Linked DNA regions of Homo sapiens: all the other regions are linked to region 3. The links are contacts of gene promoters, found by promoter capture Hi-C in blood cells and fetal thymus (Javierre and others, 2016). All regions are on one chromosome and are shown on one strand. The core of a region is centred on a gene start or on the middle of the fragment in contact, and the rest is flanking DNA. Distances in the headings are between cores, read along the strand shown. Region 1 has its middle 140 kb from the start of LINC01544. Region 2 overlaps LOC124904314 (a long non-coding RNA gene). Region 3 holds the start of RNF152 (ring finger protein 152). Region 4 overlaps CDH20 (cadherin 20). Region 5 overlaps CDH20 (cadherin 20). Region 6 overlaps LOC124904314 (a long non-coding RNA gene). Region 7 overlaps PIGN (phosphatidylinositol glycan anchor biosynthesis class N).

The links. Contacts are between HindIII fragments. The CHiCAGO score rates a contact against its expected background, and 5 or more counts as called.
Region 1: a contact is called between a fragment that was not itself captured here and the fragment with the promoter of RNF152 in region 3, in 6 of 17 cell types (M2 macrophages, M0 macrophages, M1 macrophages and 3 more). The highest score is 14.3, in M2 macrophages.
Region 2: a fragment that was not itself captured here is called in contact with the fragment with the promoter of RNF152 in region 3 in 12 of 17 cell types (endothelial precursors, megakaryocytes, M2 macrophages and 9 more); the score reaches 22.0 in endothelial precursors.
Region 4: a fragment that was not itself captured here is called in contact with the fragment with the promoter of RNF152 in region 3 in 2 of 17 cell types (megakaryocytes and M0 macrophages); the score reaches 6.1 in megakaryocytes.
Region 5: a fragment that was not itself captured here is called in contact with the fragment with the promoter of RNF152 in region 3 in 5 of 17 cell types (megakaryocytes, M2 macrophages, endothelial precursors and 2 more); the score reaches 10.7 in megakaryocytes.
Region 6: a fragment that was not itself captured here is called in contact with the fragment with the promoter of RNF152 in region 3 in 2 of 17 cell types (M2 macrophages and M0 macrophages); the score reaches 10.6 in M2 macrophages.
Region 7: a contact is called between a fragment that was not itself captured here and the fragment with the promoter of RNF152 in region 3, in 1 of 17 cell types (M2 macrophages). The highest score is 6.2, in M2 macrophages.

What each region holds. Positions count from the first base shown.
Region 1 is chr18:61,611,242-61,614,293 of GRCh38, reverse strand. No RefSeq gene overlaps it. Among named protein-coding and RNA genes, the nearest start is that of LINC01544, 140 kb to the left of the region's middle. The HindIII fragment of the contact is 7,553 bases long and covers 1-3,052 here.
Region 2 is chr18:61,577,637-61,580,585 of GRCh38, reverse strand. It overlaps LOC124904314 (a long non-coding RNA gene), which reads left to right. Exons shown (of 7, transcript XR_007066395.1): 6 at 1,130-1,179. Among named protein-coding and RNA genes, the nearest start is that of LINC01544, 170 kb to the left of the region's middle. The HindIII fragment of the contact is 1,816 bases long and covers 539-2,354 here.
Region 3 is chr18:61,890,984-61,894,289 of GRCh38, reverse strand. RNF152 (ring finger protein 152) reads left to right here and starts at 1,283. Exons shown (of 2, transcript NM_173557.3): 1 at 1,283-1,495. RefSeq lists a silencer at 1-97. The HindIII fragment of the contact is 8,244 bases long and covers 1-3,306 here.
Region 4 is chr18:61,532,422-61,535,338 of GRCh38, reverse strand. The region is part of intron 7 of CDH20 (cadherin 20); the gene reads right to left. Among named protein-coding and RNA genes, the nearest start is that of CDH20, 200 kb to the right of the region's middle. The HindIII fragment of the contact is 2,184 bases long and covers 568-2,751 here.
Region 5 is chr18:61,550,775-61,554,082 of GRCh38, reverse strand. The region is part of intron 11 of CDH20 (cadherin 20); the gene reads right to left. Among named protein-coding and RNA genes, the nearest start is that of LINC01544, 200 kb to the left of the region's middle. The HindIII fragment of the contact is 6,299 bases long and covers 1-3,308 here.
Region 6 is chr18:61,594,121-61,597,327 of GRCh38, reverse strand. All of the region lies in intron 3 of LOC124904314 (a long non-coding RNA gene), which reads left to right. Among named protein-coding and RNA genes, the nearest start is that of LINC01544, 150 kb to the left of the region's middle. The HindIII fragment of the contact is 3,345 bases long and covers 1-3,207 here.
Region 7 is chr18:62,153,863-62,157,129 of GRCh38, reverse strand. It overlaps PIGN (phosphatidylinositol glycan anchor biosynthesis class N), which reads left to right. Exons shown (of 31, transcript NM_176787.5): 6 at 1; 7 at 2,479-2,585. Among named protein-coding and RNA genes, the nearest start is that of PIGN, 32 kb to the left of the region's middle. The HindIII fragment of the contact is 3,994 bases long and covers 1-3,257 here.

The DNA of each region.
Region 1 (3,052 bases), core at 507-3,006, 280 kb after region 3:
ATCATGTAAATGGTGGTAAACCATTCATGAGAAATCTACCCCCATAATCCAATCACCTCCCACCAGACCCCACCTCCAATGTTGGAGATTACAATTTAACATGTGATTTTATGGGGACACAGATCCAAACTATTTCACATGGTAAATAAGAATAAGTTTGTTGTACAGATTTGTCAATAAGTTTGTTATGCAGATTTGCCTTCTGTGTTCATAGTTTCTAGCGATTTAGAGTCATTCTTCTCTTCCTAATATACAGTGGGAGACAACCTTAAATATGGAGATTTCCATCCTAGCATGGTGGTATGTGCTTGTAGTCCTAGTTACTTGGGAGATGAGAGGATGACTTGATCCCAGCAGGTGGTGACCAGCCTGGGCAACATGGTAATAACTTGTTTCTAAAAACGACAACAGCAACAACAAAACAGTCAACACAAATGGAGATTTCCTTCATAGATGTAAATTTCCTTACAATGGGTAACTTTAACGTGTCAGAGCTTCTCCTGTGTCTGCAGTTTCTTAAAATAATTAGCTTAAAATGATCCTTATGCCAAAGAGGCATATTTTGGAGTGGCATATTCTGGTCTCCAACAAGAGTATGGTGCAAGGTTCAGACTGGGCAACCAGCTGAGATGTGCCTACAGAGTTTTAGGGTGCTTAGCCAGAAACTGTATCCAAATCTTATGCTTTTTTACTACTTTGTTCAGCCAATTTGCAGAGGTAGGGTAGAGAGAGTGTCCAGTAGAGAAAGCAGAAGAGGAAAAGGTCCAAGACTAAAATGAGGGTCTTTGAGAAGGTGGTTCTCTCCACGTAATGCTGAGGATGGTTGAATACATGCCAACCAAGCTGCAAAGTAAACTTGGATAAAACAATATGCCACAAAATTAGTGCTCTCAAAACCCATCCTGTCATCCTAAGTTCTGTCCATATAGTTTGATTTTCCCAGTCAAGTTAATTTTCAAAACAAAACAACACAAAACAAAGAGAAAACCTGTGCCTCGGCAGAAGAAACATGGGTGGGAGGTGGGTTTATCATCACTGTAGGGAAAGCTAAACTTTCCTTCCGAAGGCTCAGTAATTGAGTTTGCTGAAATAAACTCACAAGAGACAGATTGACAGGAGAAAAGGCATACAACAGTATTAATGTGCAAGTGCATAAAAGGCTTACAAAGTTTGAACACCTGAAGAAGGGCCAGATGGCTGAAACTGAAATGCCCTGTTTGTAAGGGAGAGCAAAGTGGGGGATGTAGACAATTTTAGAGGAAGAGTAAATGGTTTTTAGGGGAGATATATGGGCTTAAAGAATAGACAATAGGCTGGGACAAAGTTTCTCTGGGCTCTGGGGAAGATGGTGACAAGTTATAGGAAGCTGAGGGACAGAACTGTACTGTGAACAACAGTTGTTATGCTGATAAAGTCTCTCAGGTAACAGGCCTCAGAAGAATAGATAAAAGGTCTGTACAGATGGGCATGGGAACAGCCTTCATTTTCTTCTTCAGTGACTAATCCCCTGACAATGAGATTTCAGACAAATGTTTGAAGGTAATTGTGTTTCTTTTGGTAGTACTGTCCTCAGTCAGCTAACTTCCCTAGAGAGAGCTCCTCCTTGTGTTTGGAGGAAGAAAAAGGGAAGGTCAGAGAGACCTTGCTTCTGAGGCAGCTTCTAAAGCCTTCTAATTTCCTTTAATTCAAAGTGCTTAGCATGCCAAAGACCATACTTTGTGGTATTGTTTTCTGAGCTTCAACACTACCTTGGTCCAAGTAATCAGGCCTGGAGTTGAAGCAGAACAGTTGGTTCTTCTAGCTGAGATCCCAAAGAGATGCATTCAGTAGTGAAACCAGCATTGCAAATTTATAACCGAGACAGTGAAAGAGATCTAACTTAACCAATGCAATCTTGCTTCCAACCTCCAAGCTGTCCTTGTTCATTCCAGGGTATAGGCCAAACTTACATTGAGAGGCACTAGTTTATCATTGGAAACAAAGAAGAAAACAGCCCTTTACCCAAACAGACCCCCTTCTTACCTTTGGACTAGACTGCCTTTATAGGACTAACAAATTAGCCAAAAGACTGGAAATTTTGGTTTAGGAGTCATGCAATTGGAGGCTACAAGATTCTGACCCTCCCCAAATTGCTTCTAGGAATAACATCACTATTGGAAAATCTTAGATCAGTGCTTGAGATATTTTGCCAACACTGAAATTGATGGACCAGCTGGCACCACCCAGATTGACAAAATGGCTCATCTGATCTTGTGCCCCCTCAACCCAGGAACTGACTCAACAGAAGAGCACAGCTTTGACTCCGTATGATTTCATTTCCAACACAACCAATCAGCACTCCTGACCACTGGCCCCCAACCCACCAAATTATCCTTAAAAACTCCAATCCCTGAATGCTCGGCAAGACTGATTTGAGTAATAATATTTCAGTCTCCTGCACAGCCGACTCTGTGTGGATAACTCTTTCTCTATTGCAGCTCTCCTGTCTTGATAAATTGGCTCTGTCTAGGCAGCAGGCAAGGTGAACCCACTGGGCAGTTACTGTAGCCTCCACCTAATAGAATTCTAATTTAGTGCCTCGTAGAAAGAATGAAGTCCTTCAGTGATCAGCATGGGAATCATTTTGCTTAGCTTATCTCACCTAGGAACCATGCTCCACATAGTGTTTCATCCAGTTCCATCTTCATTAATTGAACATATGGGGACCCACTTGGAATGAAGAGTTGGTATAAAGATTAAGTTGAAGACATCTGAGATTCAACAGGTACAGAAAGGAGCCTTCTTGAAGCATTCCTTATCTGACTAAAAGCAGGAACCTCTGGTATGTGAGATTGCCATAAATTCTCTCTTTAGGGCAGGTCTTTGGGAGACAGACCAAGAGTTAACCTACCACAGATTCGCTCTTCCAGGGAGTTTCATGACCATGAAGAAGATAGACCACTTATCACAAACTTTCTTATCTTTAATTTGTTCTCCTAAAAATCCATCTATCATTCCTAAAGAAACTTATTTGTTTTTCCCATAGATGTCTTTTCTTCCATCTTCCTTTTCT
Region 2 (2,949 bases), core at 197-2,696, 310 kb after region 3:
TGAGCTGTGATTGTATCATTGCACTCCAGCCTGGGTGACAGAGCGAGACCTTGTCTTTAAAAGAAAAAAAAAGAAAGAAAGTCACTGTTGTAGATGTGGCTTCTTGTTTGAGCAAAGGAAGGTGGGGTGCAGGGGAAGGGGAAAGGAGAAGGGAGCAGAAAGAGGAATCTTGAGGGACCCTCTGCTGCAGATTAGTGAAGTATGTCTGCCCCAGCCTTACCCTGGCCACTTCTGGTCCTTCTGCGGTGATGGGCTCCACTGTAGTGGTGTTGCTGTCATAGCTGGTGTTTGTGGTTGTTTAGGAGCTGTGTTCAGTTTCAGCTTCACTGAGGAGCTACCACGTTTCCAAGACAACAGGAAAAAACATCCCACTAAATACCATGTTGCACAAACTTTTTATTGGAATGTCTACAATCTTCCATGTACCTTTTTCTTTAGTCATATAATATTGTATGTTCTTGGCTTCCATTTCTCCCCACTGCAATATTCCTGCCATCTGGGGTCTCTTTTCCTATCACCCTGCAACTTCCCAAAAGCTTCCTCTGAGCTGCTGAATGGGAACCGACCCAAGCCTCCTCTGGACCCCCCACATTTGGTCTCCTTGGCTATTACATGTTTTCTTTCATTTTTCCTCACAGTGAAATGAGTGGTTTATCTGTCTCCTCTACCAGACCGTATTTCCTAGAGGATGTGGGTCACAGTCCAGTTGTCCTTGCATGCTTTGTAGCACTTTCCATAGAGTAAGTGGTGAAAATGATCATAGCACATTGAATGGCAAAAAGGAACTTCTTAGTCATCTCTTAGGAAGCATTTTCTATAATTGTCTGGTTGCAATTCAGGATTATCATTGTGTGCCAACAGCTGCAGGCTCATTTTAAATGTTGATTCTACAAATCCTCTCAAATAACAATGCCTTATGTTGACTTAGATTTTATAAAATGTCCTAGGTCACATGGTTTTGTTTAAAACACTTCTTTTGTCTTTGAAACAGCCAAGTGAAGTTCGATGTGGTAGATGTTACTTTCATTTTTTAGATGAGGAACTGTTCAGAAAGTGTAAGTGACTTGCCCAAGGTTCCTTGGATAGTAAATCACAGCTTGTGTTCTGTTCCTCTCACCTCTTTGCACAGAGCTTTGACATTCTTCTGTCAAGTCACCTTGCAAGTCTCATGCTTTCTGGGTAAGTAAATGCCATCCATGTACTTGTCCCGGGTCTTCAGTGATAAGTTTTGGTCCTGTCCTCAGCTGCTGGTGCCTCACTGAGTATATGACACTAGGCAAGCCATTGACCTGTTTCCACATCTCAGATCTTTCATCCTGAAAATAAAGATGACAATAGTTGCAGGCTGCCTCGAATGGCGTGGTGAAGATTAATGAGATGATGCAGAGAAGTGCCCTGAGCTTCTGGGACAAAAGGCTTGGTAGAAGCACAAAGTCTAATTATAATTTTCTAACATTTTCAAAGAGCCCTCTGGAAAGGCTAGCTCTTGCTTCTAAATTTGGAGAGGATGCCTGCCTGGGACAGATTGTTTTCTCTCAACTGGCAGCCCCAGCAGCCTCCTGCTTATGCTGGCCTTGATGGTTCTGCTCTGATCCAGTGGCACTCAGTCTACCTGGATCCCATTAACAGTAGAAGGTACAGTCCCCAAAAGTGCCAGCCCCTGATCTTCCATGCCTTTTGGATGGAGCAAGGGTAACCCACTTTGGACAGGCATCAGATGGGGTTCAGTTATTCTTAGGGAATGTAGATATAGTCCCTGGTCTAAGGATGGGAATGTGACATAGATTAGGGAGAATATAAGAAGTCTGCTTGGACCTTCTAGGAAAAATTTTTCCTCCCTAATAAGAGGAAGTCACAGAAAATCTTCTAGCCCTATGCTCAGCTTCCTGCCCTTGAACACAGTTTGAGATCTGAACCTTGAAGCTGCTGATGCCATCTTACAAACCAATGGGGAAGCCAAGAGAATTCAGCAACATTGGCCCAACGCCATTGAGTCCCTTAAACAGCATGGCATTTCTTATTTGTGACAAAAACAAATCTTTGCTTAAACCATCATCCGCATGCTGCTTCTGTTCCTTATAGACAGATACCAGTAGCTGAACTGATGGCTGTGTCAATCATGGTGTGGTTGCTCAGGTCCAGGGGGCGTTGCAGATTATCTGACCTGGAGTGTTACTGTAGAGGTTTTGGAACGCTGAATTTTACACAGAAAATCTTTGGCTTTGCTCATTTTCTACCCTGCTTTGTTTTCCTTTGGGCTACTCTTTCACCTAGCTACTCATCAAATGATCTATCCTGAGTGCAGGAATAAAATCAATACTAGAGCCAGTTTCCAAGTAATAGGGAGGTAAGCTTTGACTTTTCTCTTTCCCATTTCTTTTTAGAATTTATATAAATTTAGGGTGTACAGAAGCAATTTTGTTACATGTGTACAACATGTAGTGGCAAAATCTTGTTTTTCAGTGTAGCCATCACCCCAATAATGTACATAGTACCCATTAAGTAATTTCTCATCACTCTCCCCTCTCTTGTCCCTCCACCCTTCTGAGTGTCCACTCTCCATCAGCCCACACTCTTTGTCTATGCATACACATTATTTAGCTCCCACTTATAAGTGAGAACCTGAGGTATTTGATTCTCTGTTTCTGACTTGTATCATTTCTCAGCATTCGCATCCAGATATTCAGAGCCCTCAATGTCCCTGACTCTGTACCTTGTTTCTCATCTCCATCCAAACCTCTCTCTCTGACCTCTTTGGTCTTCACAGCCCCAACTGTTGCTGGCCTAAGGGGTCACCTTCCCAGGTAGTATGGCATTTTCACATAGTGGAGATGACTTGGCCAATCATGAAGCTAGGCACCCTTCTCTCGCCCTTTTCTGTTCTATCTAGTCTATCCTCTGCTCATAAAAAAGTTTTCAAGCATCTAGTGCCTTCTTGGTGTTCAATAG
Region 3 (3,306 bases), core at 34-2,533:
GCTCTCGGCCGGAGGAGCGGCGGCCGCCGGCCCGGGGCGCGAGTCTGGCTGAAAGGAGCGGGCGCGCCGGGACCACCCGGCGATGCTGTCGCCGCCGCCGCCGCCTCTGTAGCGAGCACCCGAGCCCGCCGCGGAGAAAGGTCAGTGAGTTTCGGTTTGTTTCTCTGCTCTGCCGGCTCCGGATCGGGGGCGGACAGAGGGGTGCGCAGGGATGTCTGCGCCCCTACGGCGGCCGCGCCGAAGCCGTGGAAGCGGGAAAGGGCAGCTGCCGCCTGCTGTAACTGGGGAGATCTTCTGGACCGCGGAGGGGGTGGCGGGGCCGCAGGGTCCCGGGGAGGGGAGCGCGGGGTCTGGCGGGGCACGGGGGAGGTGGTCCCGGGAGTTGCGTGTCTCCTGAGAGCTGGCGGAGTTGGGCGGGCGGCCGCGGCGGGGAGCGGCGCTGTCGGCTGCTCGGCCGAGTCCTCGGATGCCCCCTGGAGCTCCGGTCCGAGGGAGCTTTCCTCGTGCCCGCGCCGCGCGCGCCCCTGGGTGTGCACGTGCGCGCGCGCCCGCCCCAGTTGCGCCCCCGGCCCGCACACACCCCGGCTCATCTTCTCCCGGTCCCCTTGTCTCGCGCCTTCTCCAGCCCTAGAAGTTGCCCCAGGGCCCCTCCCGGGATTAGAGAGCGCTGTGAAGGGCCAGATGTTGGGGGTCTTTTGTGCAGACACACGCGCCTGGGGCGCTTGCTCCTGGAAGGACAGCGGCAGGACAAAGCCAGCTGGACTCGTGGGGCGCTGCTCGGGAAGCGGCGGTCCCCAATCCCGCCTGGGGTCGGGGCATGGCTTGGGGAGCGCTGCCTGGGTCTGGAGAGAGTAGAGAAATCGCCAAAGCAGAGTGACGGTGACTTGATGAGGTGACGGTGACTTGATGAGGTGGCGGTGACTTGATGAGGTGGCGGACAGGGGCAAACGAAAGAAAGATGCTCGGGATTGCCGCGCTGTGTGCCTGTCTGCGCGGCTGACTAGGCGCCCCGCATTCCCATATGACCGGGTTACCTGGTAGATTTTGCCAGTGTGTCTTTGCCCCAAGATGTTATTCCCCACCTGCTCCGATTTCTTTCTTTCCTAGGGCTTACTGTTGCTAGTAGGCGCTCTGCCACCAGAGGGGAACTCGTGGGCGGGGGAGACTGCGGAGGAGGGGGGAGGTGGTTATTTATCCTGTAGAGACAATTAGGAGCCGTGACGCCCCCTTCTCGGCCGCCAGCCCTCCACACCTCATCTGCCTTGCTCCACCTCCCTAGTGCACCCGCTCCAGCCCCGTCTGCCCAGGAGGGCGCTTGGATTTCCTTCTCCGCGGCGCGTATCTAACCCTTCCTGCATGTATTTCACTGCAGGCTGAAGAAAGCTCAGTCTCAATTGTGTTTCCTGCCTGTCAGCCTCTTGCCTCCTAAACGTGTACCATTTCCACTTGATGTCATCACGCAGAAGGGGTGAAAGAGACTCGGTGACAGATACAGGTAACCCCCCACGATCTGGGTAGCGCCTGGGTGTCTCTGGGTCATTTGGGCCGACAGTGCTGGCACAGGGCTGTTTGGGTGGTTTCTGCATCAACATCGTTCCTATCTGTGAGAAGGTGTGGGGGCTGCTAAAACTCCTGGTTCAAAGAAATAAATTGCAAATGACTTTATACCTTCCCTTTGAAGAAGCCATTGGAGGTAGGTGCAGGGTGAATTTGGGATTGTAGAAATCCCACCTGGTTTCCTTTCATGGGAATTTTGATATAATTCATACACAGGCAGTTGTATCTGAATGTTAGGTTTCCATAGATGCCTGCTTTCTTATCTGTAGTAATAGATTTAGGCTTCAGTCTAGAGGTGGGGTATCCTTTGTTGAAAAGGTATCATTGGAAGGCTGATTGTACTTTTGCCCAGTGCTCTAATTGAGCACCGGTCAAATGCAGTGACCTTCGTATGAAATACTGTCTTTCTTCTGTTCCTTCATTGTAATAGTGTTTGCAATATTAAGAGAGACATGCTAGCAGTGAGTACTGGGAGGTGGAAGGGAGGGCTGTTGGGGGCAGCAGAAAGAGAACAGAGAAAACAGCTTGAGTGAAGTTTCCATTTAGATAGCCATGAACCAGTAGACTCTCATTCTGGATTTTATCTTTAGGTTATTGGGGCTTTTCCAAAAACTCTGGCCTGTTCTTTTCTTTCCAAGGATAGTTCTGTTTTGATGTCAGCCTAGCCAGATCTGGGGTTATCTTGATAAGAGTGCAATGAAAAAACGTAACCTTCAGACTTAGCAGGACACTCCGGCATTAGCATTTTCTGCTAGAGGGCAGAGTCCTGCGCATCCTACACTAGTAGCAGGGAATAAGAATGGTTATGGAAATGGGCTTTCGATTTTTCTTGTAGGAAGACAGATTGCTGAGGGCCAAAGGCTCCTGGTCTACTCTCTTTTACATTGCAGTAACACCTTGGTATCTGTGACAGATTCTCTCTTCACCATTTTCCTCCAAATCCCTTGAAAAATGAAGTTAAAAACTTGAAAGATTTATTATTCACCTCCAATGTAGTTTTGTTTTGGAAGGTGACTTTAAAAACATAGGTGACACTAGCATTTATCCTTCTACTACAAGCATTCAGGAGTCACTAGTAAAAGCAGTTGAGTTATCTAGTCCCAGGTGAAACAAAGGCCAGTGCTTTGCAAAGATCAGATGAGTAATGTGGTGCTAAGATAGAGGTATTTTTGACAAGTAATTTTTATGTCAGCAATAGTACAGGGTGTGTACTGTGTTGCTGCAAGAAGAAAAAACATGTGATGGGATAATAGGGAATGTAATAATGCAATAGAAACAAGGGTGTGGTTTTTTTTTTAATAGAAAGAATAAACACTTCGCACACAAAATTCCACATGGCAAAACAGTAGCCTGCCCATGTAAATGCACGTCCAAGAACAAAGATAGCCACAGTGCAGTGTTAGGTTTCATTGTGGTTTTAAATTGTGTACAGTAATAAATCATAATAAAGTGTCCATTGATGCTTAATTTTTTTTATATAAGAAGGAGGCTCCCCACCCTCAGATGTGTTTAGCTTTAGGCTGGAGGATCCCTAGAGGCTATTAGGCTGATCTCTGCCTCCAATGCCTGCTTCCTTTCTACAATGCTCATTTATTCATTTAGCAGATGTTTATTGGCACCTGATAGATAATGGACTCTGTGATAGATAATGGACTCAAGGGGTTGGGGTTGGGTGTAGGGGGAGACACAAAATTGAACTCCCTATAGGAAGACCTGATTCTAATTAACTTCAATGGAAGCTCAAGAGAG
Region 4 (2,917 bases), core at 410-2,909, 360 kb after region 3:
TTTTTTAATTCTTTTTTTTTTCTGAGGTGGAGTCTTGCTGTCTTGCCCAGGCTGGAGTGCAGTGGCATGATGTCAGCTCACTGTAGCCTCTGCCTCCTGGGTTCAAGTGATTCTCCTGCCGCAGCCTCCCAAGTAACTGGGATTACAGGTGCCTGCCACCATCCCTGGCTGATTTTTATATTTTTAGTAGAGACAAGGTTTTGCCACGTTGGCCAGTCGGGTCTCAAACTCCTGACCTCAAGTGATCCACCTGCCTCAGCCTCCCAAAGTGCCGGGATTACAGGTGTGAGCCACCGTGTCCAGCCATTTTTATTTTTTTAATTGACAAGTAATAATTATATATATTTATGGCGTACAATGTGGTATTTAGATATATGTATACATCATAGAATGATCAAATCAGGCTAATTAACATGTCTATTACCTCACATATGTATTTGTTTTTTGCAATGATACCATTTAAAATCTATTCTTTTAGCTATTTTGAAATATACAATACATTATTATGAACTACAGTTACCATGCTGTGCAATAGATCACAGGAACTTACTACCCCTTACTGAAGCTTTGAACTTTTTGATTCTTTTTCCTTTTTACCCACCAGCCTCTGGCAATCACTATTGTACTCTCTACTTCTATGAGTTTGACTTTCTTACATTCTACATATAACTGAGATCATGTGGTATTTGTCTTTCTGTGCTTGGCTAATTTAGCATAATGTCGTCTAGATTCATCCATGTTGCAAATGACAGAATTTCTTTCTTTTCTAAAGCTGTATTGAATATTTAAGGCTGAAACGAATATTCCATTGTGTATGTATGCCACATTATTTTTACCCATTCATCTGTTGATGGGCACTAAGGTTGTTTCTGTATCTTGGCTATTGTGAATAATGCTGCAGTGAATATGAAAGTAGAGACATTCTTTGACATATTAATTCCAGTTCCTTTGGATATATACCCAGAAATGGGATTGTTGGATCATATGGTAATTCTCTTTTTAGTTTTTTGAGGAACCTCCATACTGTTTTCTACAATGGCTGTACTAACATTCTCATCAACGGTGTGCAAGGGTTCCCTTTTTCTACACACCCCAGCCAACACTTACGTTTCATGTTTTTGACAACAGACGTTCTAACGTTGTGAGGTGATATCTCATTGTGGTTTTAATTAGCATTTTCCTGATGATTAGGGATGTTGAGCATTTTTTCATGTATGTTGGTCATTTGTATGTCTTCTTTTGAGAAATGTCTGTTTAGGCATTTTGCACATTTTTTTTAACAGGGTCATTTGTCCTAATTTTGAAATAATATTACAAAGCTATAGTAATTATAACAGCTGGAATTAAAACAGACACATCAACCAACTAAATAGGATAGAGAGCTGAGAAAAAAACTCATGGGTCTACAGTGAATTAACTGATTTTTGACAAAGATTCCAAGAACACATAATGGGGAAAGGACAGTCTCTCCAATATAGTGTTGAGAAAACTAGATACCCACATGCAGAAGAATGGAAATGGACCCTTATCTGACCCCTTATACAAGAATCAACTTAAAATGGATTAAAGACTTAAATGTTAAGACCTGAAACCATCAAACTACTAGAAGAAACCTTAGGGGAAAAGCTCCACAATGTTGGTCTGGGCAATGATTTCTTGGATATGACCCCAAAAGCACATGCAAAAGCAAAAATAGATGAATGGGATTGTATCAAACTAAAAACTTCTGCACAACAAAGGAAACAACAGAGTGAAGAGACAACCCACAGATTGGGAGAAAATATTCTTTTCATAAAATAAGGGGCTAATATCCAAAATATATAAATAACTCAATAACAAGAAAACAATCCTGTTTTTAAAAGACCAGTAATTACAATAGCTGCCATTTGCTGAATATCAGGCACTTTACTATGTACTTAATACACAGCTTCTTTTAAAATTTTTCCAACATCTCTGGGAGGTAGTTATTATCCCAATCAACAGATAAGGAAACTGAGGCTTAAATAAGTCACTTTTTTTTCTTTCTTTAGAAATGGGTTCTCTTTCTGTCATCCAGGCTGGAGTGGTGCAGTGGCATGACCAAACTCACTGCAGCCTCAAACTCCTCGGCTCCAGTGATCCTTCCGCCTCAGCCTCCTGAGTAGTTGGAACTAGAGGCAGGTACCACCCCACCTGGATAATTAAATTTTTTTTATTTTTTATTTTAAAAGACAAAGTCTTTTAAACAGCCTGTGTTGCCCAGGCTGGCCTCAAACTCCTCAAACTCCTACCCTCAAGTGATTTTCCTGCCTCAATCTCCCAAGTAGTGGGGATTACAGGCATAAGCCACTGCAACTAGCTGAAGTCACTTTTATGCAATTACACAGGTAATAATTTAAGAGGTAAGACTTGAAGCCATCTTTATGGAGTTATAACTACTGTGTTTGATTTGAAGCTATATATACAAAATTATAACTACTATGTTCTTAAAAATTATTTAAATAGGGACTGGGAAATATATTGGGTTCAAAATTTGATTTAAAGTTGCCAGCAACTGTAATCCATATCTTAACGTTGTAGAGACGGAGAAGCAGCAATTTTGGAGGGAATAAACATTTTCTTTACTATAGTGCATTGTTTTTCAGATGTAGCTTAGTGGATTGTGAAATCAATTTGGTGGGTTATGATTAGCATAGAAAGAAAATGAAATAGAATAGAATATATGCATGCCAAACTATCACATGCAGTAAGGGTAAATATTGATGTAAAGCTTTTGTTTTTTATATATATGTGTGTGTGTGTGTATATATATATATATATATATATACATACAATACACACATGTATACAGTTGTGCATATATATCGTTGGTAAAATGTATTGTATCAAATACAATGTATATTTTTTTTCTGCAGAGATTCAGGATGGCTATTTAGGA
Region 5 (3,308 bases), core at 28-2,527, 340 kb after region 3:
GAGGGCTCAGAGATAGCTTTTGGATATCTGAAACCTCGGGGAGTTCTAATTTAAGTCCACTTTGTCCTCTTTCTGTAAGTCAGGTTGTGGACAATGAAGCCCTGTATTTCTTCAAATGGTTTAATTAGAAAAAGTTGCCTATAGTCGCTTACCATCAGCTTGCTGTTTTGAAATTGTGTGTCTACACCTAACACCCAATTTAAAATCCCACTAACAAAGCACAAAGGCCTGCTATGGACCAACATACTCTAAGGACCAGATCACGTGCTCTGTTTATATGATGAAAAATATACATTTATCCTCTTATAATGTGAAAGTCTTATTATGTAGGTGGAATTCTGCTTCCGTATATTAGCATCTTAATAGGATTCTACTCTGTATATAATCATATCTTAATATGCATAGAGACACACATACTAAGTGTGCACCAAAGTTGTAGTCTTTTTATACCTCTAAAAAACAACAGAACATAAGTGATCCCTGGGGTCCAATAAACTCAGGTTCCTCAGAGAAGCCTTTCATTAAAGAGGTGGTTGTGGCTTTCTGGACCCAAGGGTATTTATGGAAGGCAGAGAATGAGCAGTGGCCTTTTATATAATTCATCATGTTATCAAAGAAACACCACACTGTTAGATGTGCCCTTGCAGGTTTGGATAAAATTTTATCCCAACAAATGCATTTTTCCCCCCTAGAATGTGTTCGCTGGGGTTTAAAGGAGAGATAGAGATAATCCCATTGAGCTATTTATCTCTCTGAAAACGTTTTCCAGGAAGAGTGTTGAGGTTTTAGCTGTAGAACTGCTATTGATTTTTTTTTTTTCTGGTGTGCTTTGTTATAGCTGGTGAACAGTGACAGTTTGACAGCACTGCAAAATAAGACCCCAGTTTATCCAAGGGGAGAAAGTGGAGTACATTCATACATGCAGTAAAAGATTACCGACTAATAAAACTCACAACAATGATTTAAAAATTTTTTTGAATGTAGATGTGCTTTTTTATCAATTGCAATTAATGACATTAATACGTAATATTTTCCCAGATAGCTTTGGTGACAAAACATACACAGGAAACGATGATACGCTCATGTGTATTTTCCCTGTGTGCAAAAATACGAGGCGTGGACTGAAAGGAGGGTGGGATTCCTAGAGAAAAAGAGACTAATAGGACTCTAAGGAAGCGTGGGCTTGAATCGAGCCTGAAAGGTTGGAGTGTGATTTGGATTGATGCAGGTTGGAGACGTGAGATTCGAAGTGAGCATGCTGTGTTTGCAGGATTCAGTAAAGTTATTAAACCCAAGTATTTTTAATCCTCTATGCTAAGCAATGGGGAAACAATATTGAGTGTGACATGGATTCTGCTCTTGTGAGCTTGTAATCTAAGGAGATTATGGATGCTGATAATTAATGCAAGTCAGACAGTGATAAGGGCTGTTAGAGCCACAAGTGTCACTGGGAGAGTACAGAGGCAGGGCCAGTGAATTTTACCTGGGAGACTGGGTAGGGCTTCACAGAGGTGACCTTGAAGTGGTAGGGGCGGTATTTTGGATAACGCTAGGAAGCAAAATTGGAAGTCTTTTGAATACCTTGCTGGAGAGAATTCTGATGGTCATGGAGAATTAGGCCGTTTATATAGAACTAGTCCGTCTTTTGAAAAATAAAGACAGCTACATGTCTTTTTTTTTTTAAGGTAATCTAATTAGGTAAATAACAAATATTACATAACAAATATTACATGATGCCCTGAAAATCAGATTTTGAGGAAAATGGTCTTATTCAGCTGAAAGGCTTCTCTGACAGAAGAGAATTAGTTCTAGGGATGGTTTATTCTTCGTGTACTATAGGCACGGTGCGTAGAGCTTATGAGATTTTCTAGGCACTAGATACATATATGAGACATGAAAAAAAAAAACCCAGGAAGTCAGAATTAATTTATTTAGTTGTCTATAAAATATAGTATTTTGTTGACAAATGCAAGTCAAATCTTAAAGTTTGATGAATTATTTTTAATGTGGGATGTGTACTCTTAGAAGTAAGGGTACTTAAAACTGTGAGGATTTTATGACAGCTCTGCTCAATTTAGCTCCTGAAAACTGTTTACTTTTTCTGTACGGTTTAAAAGACAAGACATCATCGTGGGTGGGAAGGGATAAGATAAATTGTCCCTTGCACACCATTTTTAACTTGAGAGCCTCTCCAAGCCAGTCTCTTTAAATCAGTATTTCTGTAATGATGGCTTTTTGTGGGCCAGGGCGAACTTTTAACTTCGACATTTTCCAAAGATAGAAGTAAGGACAGCCAGTCTGGAAATTCCTCCCAGGAACAAGTTTCTTCAAAGGCCTCTTACAGGTCATCCACTTCTGTGCTAAAGGACTCCCAATGCCACCTTATGGAAACTCAAGGAATTGCAGGGAGGTTTTACTTGTCAATGCAGTCAGGGACCAGAAACCGTAACAATTTTCTCTTGACACAGGGATCCAAGAACTTAGAAAGGTTACTTATTTATACTCTTCCTCTCTTTACGTAGGACTGAACTAAAACAACAAAATTAAACCACATGTTGTATTTTTAAATGTATTTTGAGAAGCACATTGCACGGACCTACCTAGAAAATCAAGTGTTGACATTTTACACAGGAACTTCTTTCTTTGGTCTGTCTCTTGGTATAGAGGTGAACTTGGGATCAAGGGTGTATGTGAATATCTGTACCTCTATTCTAATTTCAATCCTCAGGGCTTTTTCCCTCAGAAAACTCGGACTTCTTTTGTATTGAATAATACTAGTATCTACTAAATCTGTTTTTCTCTAAGCATGATATATATGCTATAGATTAGTTCAATAAGAAGAGCAAGGATATATGTACAGATACTTTCTTTTTTGCAAGAGTTGGTTTAGGTGTTTTTATTTCACTGTTTTTGAGTGTGGAATTAGAAAAGAATTGCAAGGATGGCCTTACATACCAGGGAGTTGGGGAGCCACCTTGCAGTATGACTTGAGAGGAAGAAGGAAGGGTTCCTTACCCCAGTAGTGTTCTGCCACTGCTAGCCTGTTATGTCCTTATTTCTTCAGCAGAGGCAAACTGACCCTGTTTAGTCACTGTTCCTGGTTAGATGGCCATGGTGCCTAGGAGGTGTACTAATCACCCCAAACAGCTTATTCTCCAGAAATCTGTGTGGTTCACACCATCACTTCCTTCAGCTCTCTGCTCAAAGGTCTTATCAGTAAGGGATTCCCTGACTACCCTGTTTGAAGTGGCGTCTATCCCTGTCACTTTTCCAACCAGGATACCTTATCCCTCTTCCCTTCCTGTAAT
Region 6 (3,207 bases), core at 368-2,867, 300 kb after region 3:
CTGTAGTCCCAGCACTTTGGGAGGACGAGGTGAGCTGATGACTTGAGGTCAGGAGTTCGAGACCAACCTGGCCAACATGGTGAAACACTGTCTCTACTAAAAATACAAAAAATTAGCTGGGCGTGTTAGCACGTGCCTGTAGTCCTGGCTACTTGGGAGGCTGAGGCATGAGAATCACTTAAACCCAAGAGGTGGAGATTGCAGTGAGCGGAGATCACACCGCTGTACTCCAGTCTGGGCAATAGAACCAGACTTCATCTCAAAAAAAAAAAAGAGATGTTAATCCACCAAGTTAAAACAAATTATCAAGAGTCATGTAATTTTAAAGCTGATAGGCAGAGTGAATATTGTAATCTTTGTTTACACTTTTACAACATGATCATTTTAGCTGGTAAACACATAAACCAATCCAGTTTTGCAAGATTCAATAAACCATGCTATTGTTTGCATTTTGGGACTCCTGCAAGTGATTTTAGTTACTATTATGTTTTTGTTTTAGCATTCACGGTTATTATTATGTAACATATTTTTACAACTCGGAACAATGTCATTCAAATGTTCACAAAATAGGGATGCAAGCATTTACATTGAAAAATGTTCCCCCAAATCAATAGCATTTGAAGGGAAGTTATATGTGATAAGATGCCAAGAAGGAGGGAAAACGACTACTGTGAAACATGGTGCAGTTAATATGGGAGACAGCACTCCATGAAATATTAGATGTAATGCTGGGAACAGGAAAAACAGCTTTAAAAGCAAAAAATATGTTATAACTTGTAAATGTGCTCTGAGAATACATCTGTCTTATTTTATATTTATTCCCTTGAGAAAATCATTCTTGAATTATGCAAGTTCGAATTACACAAGGTCTGGCAAGACACATCTTTTGTATGAAATAAGACCTCCCCACATTTTTATAACCAGAAATAATCCAACTTAAAAAAAAGTCAGTGCTGTTTCGCACTTAAATAAACAAGTTCCAGGTTGTCTTTTTAATAGGAAAACTGCATTTTTAGATTATATAATCCATCAGTCTGAATTGCTTAGGAAGTGCTTAGCAAAGTCATATGTGCATATAGGTGTAAAGGAAATGTTTTTTAGTGATAAGAATCGGATAGTTAATATTTCAAAAGCATTTTGTTCAGACAGGTGGAGAGCTAAATTAATTTCCTTGAACTGTTTAGGAGAATGCACAGGTATTAATCTAATTCAGCTTCTTATTAGTGCAAAACTCACAGGAATGTTACCATGTAGCAGTCAGCTGTCCACATGATTTATGCTATTTATTATTTTTAAAAGGAGGAGTGTTTTGCATTTCTATTTCCATGTGATAACCTCGGCAGAGTGAAATCCCATTTCTACTTTCCACGGTGTAATAAAAACAGATTTGGCTTTTCAAGTTCAATCGTGTGATTTGTGTGCGTAGTTTCAATTTGTGATGTGTCAGCCAGTGAACAGCTGATTTAATAACAGTTAAGAACCTCTACTACGTAGGAATGACTAAAGTGATGTTTCTGTAGATCAATAGTATTGCCTGGTTTTACTGAGGAAATAAATCATTTTGCTGCACGGTTGCCAAAATGTGAGAGGTTTTTGGATCGATGACACAAACCTATGTTATCTTTGGAGAGACTATGAGACCTTAGTTCATCAATCAAATCAACTTTAATTGAATCTAATTTAATGGACTACTGCCTAGTAAAAAGAACACTTAAAGTCATAGTTGAAACGCACAGGGCTTTTCTTTTCCTACAAGTAGCAAATACACTAAAGAGAAGGTGGCAGCTCAGTGGAGCTGCTGGCACGCCCTCCCTGCTGATGGATTTCTGAGAGTGGCTTCCCTTCTGATATTCTTGCTCAGAATGAGAACGTAGGACCTGAGTCTTACCTTTTAATGTAAGAAAAAGATGCTGCAGGCTATGTAGGCAGGAACCAGTGGATCTCTAATTAGGTTTTTAGTGTCGAAAAACAGGGATCATCTAGAAATGGCCTCGCTTTCCCTCTACTCTTTCACATTCTTTTTTTTTTTGTGGTAAATATTTATTTTTGTCATTTTAGCCATTTTGAAGCATGCAATTTAGTGGCATTAATTATATTCACAGAGTTGTGCCACTATCACCACCATCTAGTTCCAAAATGTTTTTATCACCCCCAACTTATATTCTTTAAGCAACAACCCCTCATTTTCTCCTTCCTCAGCCCCTGATAACAACTTCTCCTTCTTCTCCTTCTCCTCCTTCTCCTCCTCTTCCTCCTCCTCCTCCTTCTTTCTCCTCTTCCTATTCTTCTTCTTCTTTTTTTGAGACAGGGTTCCACTCTGCTGCCCATGCTGGAGTGCAGTGGCACACAGCTCATTGCAGCCTTGACTTCCTGGGCTCAGGTGATCTTCCCACTTCAGCCTCCTGGGTAGCTGGGACTACAGGCGCTCACCACCATGCTCAGCTAATTGTTTGCATTTCTTTTGTAGAGACAGAGTCTTGCCATGTTGCCCAGGCTGGTGTCAAACTCCTGGGCTCAAGCAATCCACTGGCCTCGGCCTCTCAAAGTGCTGGGATTATAGGAGTCAGCCACTGGGCTTGGCCACCCCAGGTAATTTTTTTTTTTTTTTTTTTGATACAGAGTCTTGCTCTGTCACCCAGGCTGGAGTGCAGTGGCATGATCTCGGCTGACTGCAACCTCCGCTTTCTGAGTTCAAGCGATTCTCCTGCCTCGGCCTCCTGAGTAGCTGGGACTACAGGCGCCCACCACCACACCTGGCTAATTTTTGTATTTTTTGTAGAGACAGGGTTTTGCCATGTTGACCAGGCTGGTCTTGAACTCCTGACCTCAAGTGATCCACCCACCTCAGCCTCCCAAGGTGCTGGGATTGCAGGCATGAGACGCCACACCCAGCCCACTCCTGGTAATTTCTAATCTATTTTCTGTTTCTATGAGTTTTCCTACTACAGATACCTCATATGAGTGGAATCATACAGTATTGGCTCTTTTGTAACTGACTTATTTCACATAGCATAGTATTTTCAGGGTTCATCGATGTTGTAGCATGTTTCAGAACTTCCTTCCTTTTAAAGTTTGTTCCTGGGAAACCAACCCAGGGCAGCAGTATGACAGTCGTATGACACAGCGGTATGAGAGTAGGAGTAGGGGCTGATGTGGTCTGCAGGGCATGGGGAAGATGTCCTTGAGGTAGTGATGTTTGAACAAAGC
Region 7 (3,267 bases), core at 11-2,510, 260 kb before region 3:
GGTAAGAGTCACTGATTATGTTTCCTCAGATAGTAAATAGGGAGTAAGTCAATATGGTAGTTTTCTATTTTTATGTATGTAATGTATGTGTTGATTTTTACACATATTTTTACATTTTTAACATTTCTGAAATAGGGATGTTTAATTACAGTATTTTTTTTTCCTTCTTAGTTATACTTGAGATATTGGCACATCATACAGTTAGATAGTATTTTGGATTCAATTAAGTGGTATATAGCACTATCGCTTAACAGCTATATAATCTTGAGCAATTTATATAACCTCTCTGAGCTTCAATTTCCTTTTCATAAAATGTGATAATATTAGTTTCTGTCTCATAGATTTATTTTTATAATTAAATTATGTAATTCATGTGAAATATTTAGCATAGCACTTTTCACATAACTTGATTATAAATGATGATGTTGAGGTGTGGTTCATTATACTTTGGTAAATTATTTTAAAAGTTAGTAGCTACTCATATAAAGATTTAAACATTGGCTGGGCACAGTGGCTCACACCTGTAATCTCAGCATTTTGGGAGGCTGAGGCAGGTGGATCACTTGAGCTCAGGAGTTGGAGACCAGTCTGGGCAACAAGGTGAGACCCACATCTCTACAACAAACAAAAAATTAGCTGAGTGTGGTGGCATGTGCCTGTAGTCCCAACTACTCAGGTGGCTGAGGTGGGAAGAGTGCTTGAGAGCCTGGGATGTTGAGGCTGCAGTGAGCCATGATTATGCCACTGCACTCCAGCCTGGGCAACAGAGCAACACCCTATCTCAAAAAAAATATTTAAGTGTTAAAATATATAGTTATAATTCCTGTTTTAATACATCGAAGATGCCATATATTCTGGCATTTGATATATATGGCATTTAACATATAATTTATTTAAATTGATATTTAATATACTGAATGTAGCATTTAGATTTATTGTTTATATGCATGATTCTGCAAATATTGGGACATCTCTTAATTAGAAAATTCATTTATATTATTTTCTAAAATCAGTTGGATGAATTTCATGTCATTAAATGCTTTTAAGTGGGAGCAGAAAGATTGATCATTTCACTTATCAGAAAGGATTTGTAACATACTTAGTCATGAGTGTAATTAAAATAATGGGAACTATTGAAGATTATTATGTGTCCAGGAAGCAAAATATATATTGAGAATTTTACAGATGATAGTCATAGAACATTATTATACTGGGCGGACCAAAAAGCCCCAAACTGTTTGCCATTTATATATTGCCTTCTTTGGAAAGCAGTTTCGTTTTTTTGGGAGCTGGTGGTGGTAAGGGTGGATTCAGTTGCTATGGCTTATCAAACTAACATTCCTATTTCTGGCTACAATGGATGGGAGAGGACAAATAATTGAATTAGAGATAGTCTAATGTTCCATATCTTGTAGTAAACAGCAAACCCAGTCAGACCTTTTTATTTGGGATGTGGGAAGAGGAATGGCTGAGCTGTGGAATAGGGTCATTAGAGCTGAACTGGTGCTATAAAGATTGTATTACTTTATTATATATCTCTCTTTTTGTTTTTGTTTTTTTGAGACGGAGTTTTGCCCTTGTTGCCCAGGCTGGAGTGCAGTGGCACGATCTCAGCTCACTGCCACCTCTGCCTCCTTGGTTCAAGCGATTCTTCTGCCTCAGCCCCCTGAGTAGCTGGGATTACAAGCGCACACCACCACACCCAGCTAATTTTTTTCTCTTTTTAGTAGAGACGGGGTTTCATCATGTTGGCCAGGGGGGTCTCGATCTCCCGACCTCCGGTGATCCACCTGCCTCGGCCTCCCAAAATACAGGGATTACAGGTGTGAGCCACCACACTGGCCATATCTCTTTCTTATTACCTGCAAGAGCCTATCAAACTCAGAAATTCACTAAACTGTTTAGATTCTTAATACACTCTTGCAAATATATGAGATTGTCATATCTGTTGACCCCTTCAAACTCTTTGGCAATAAGCAATATTTATTCTCTTAGAAGTTGAGAAAAATACTCATAGTTTATGAATAAGAGAAGTGAAATATCTGAATTTTCTTCTTATGTTAAGAAGGTTTGTACAACACACATCATCTATTTTAGATTGTAGCATTCTAAGGGGCACACATGTTTTGAATAGTTTAATCCTTAAAGGGAGACAAATATTGTGCTTATTTTTGTTATATTGCTTATTAGAGTTGTGATTTTGGTGTGTTAATTAACATATAATGAATCTGCGAAATTAAAATATGTTATTTTTGAGGACAAAAAGCAATAGAATACATTAAAGTATGTAGCATGGTCCATAGCACATAACATAAATAAATGTTAATTATTCCTCCCATTTTTCTCTTCCCCATCATAATGAACAATGCTTTGTGAAAATTCTGGTTACTCACAAAAATCTGTGAATGACTAGCTCATATTTTATGATAGTTTAAAAGATTTTGTAAAAAGATTATTTTTTCCAAATTTTCTTTTCAGGTGCTAGTGGAGACCACGTTTATACATATAGTTATGATGCTAAAAGAGAGGATTTTGGTGCTCAAGATGCAACAAAACTGGATACGTGGGTTTTTGATAATGTTAAGGTTTGTGCTATTGAGTGGTTAATATACAAAAAGCATATTTTTACCTGAAGTATTGGAGACTGTATCCCACGTTTTTTCTGTTTTCATGAGCTTTGAAAGTTCTATGTTGTAGCACACTGTTCTGAATTCTAAGATTTAATTCTAAAAAATTACACATTCTAAATAAATAAGAGAAGTTTTAAACTCCTTTGTTTCTATTAGTAAAATGAGCCCTAGATTAGGATTTAGGAAACCTGTTTTTCGTTTCTAGTTTGTGATTCATCCTGGGTAAATTTTGATCTTTCATTGACCATGGAATCAGACTCTTGTAGTAATGGACCATATGAGATGTAGGAAAGCCTTTGGGAAAATGCTGTTCAAATGTAATACATTTATAATAACAAAGTGGATGATTTTTTAAAAAATACTTTAAAGAAAAATTAGATAAGCAGATTATATAGGCAAAAACAAATTAGCAAATTGATCATAATAAAAATCTATGGTTCCTTTAAGTACTAGTTTTTTGAACATTTTATAATGACAATTATCATAGTTTCATGAGGAATACGATATAATTTATATTCTCAAAAAGTGTGTGAAAATCTCAATTGTGGACATTGGCTCTCTTCTTTTACCAGTGCATTATTCCTCATCTCCAAATAACAACTCATAATTCATCCATTATAAGAAGCTTTGATTGATA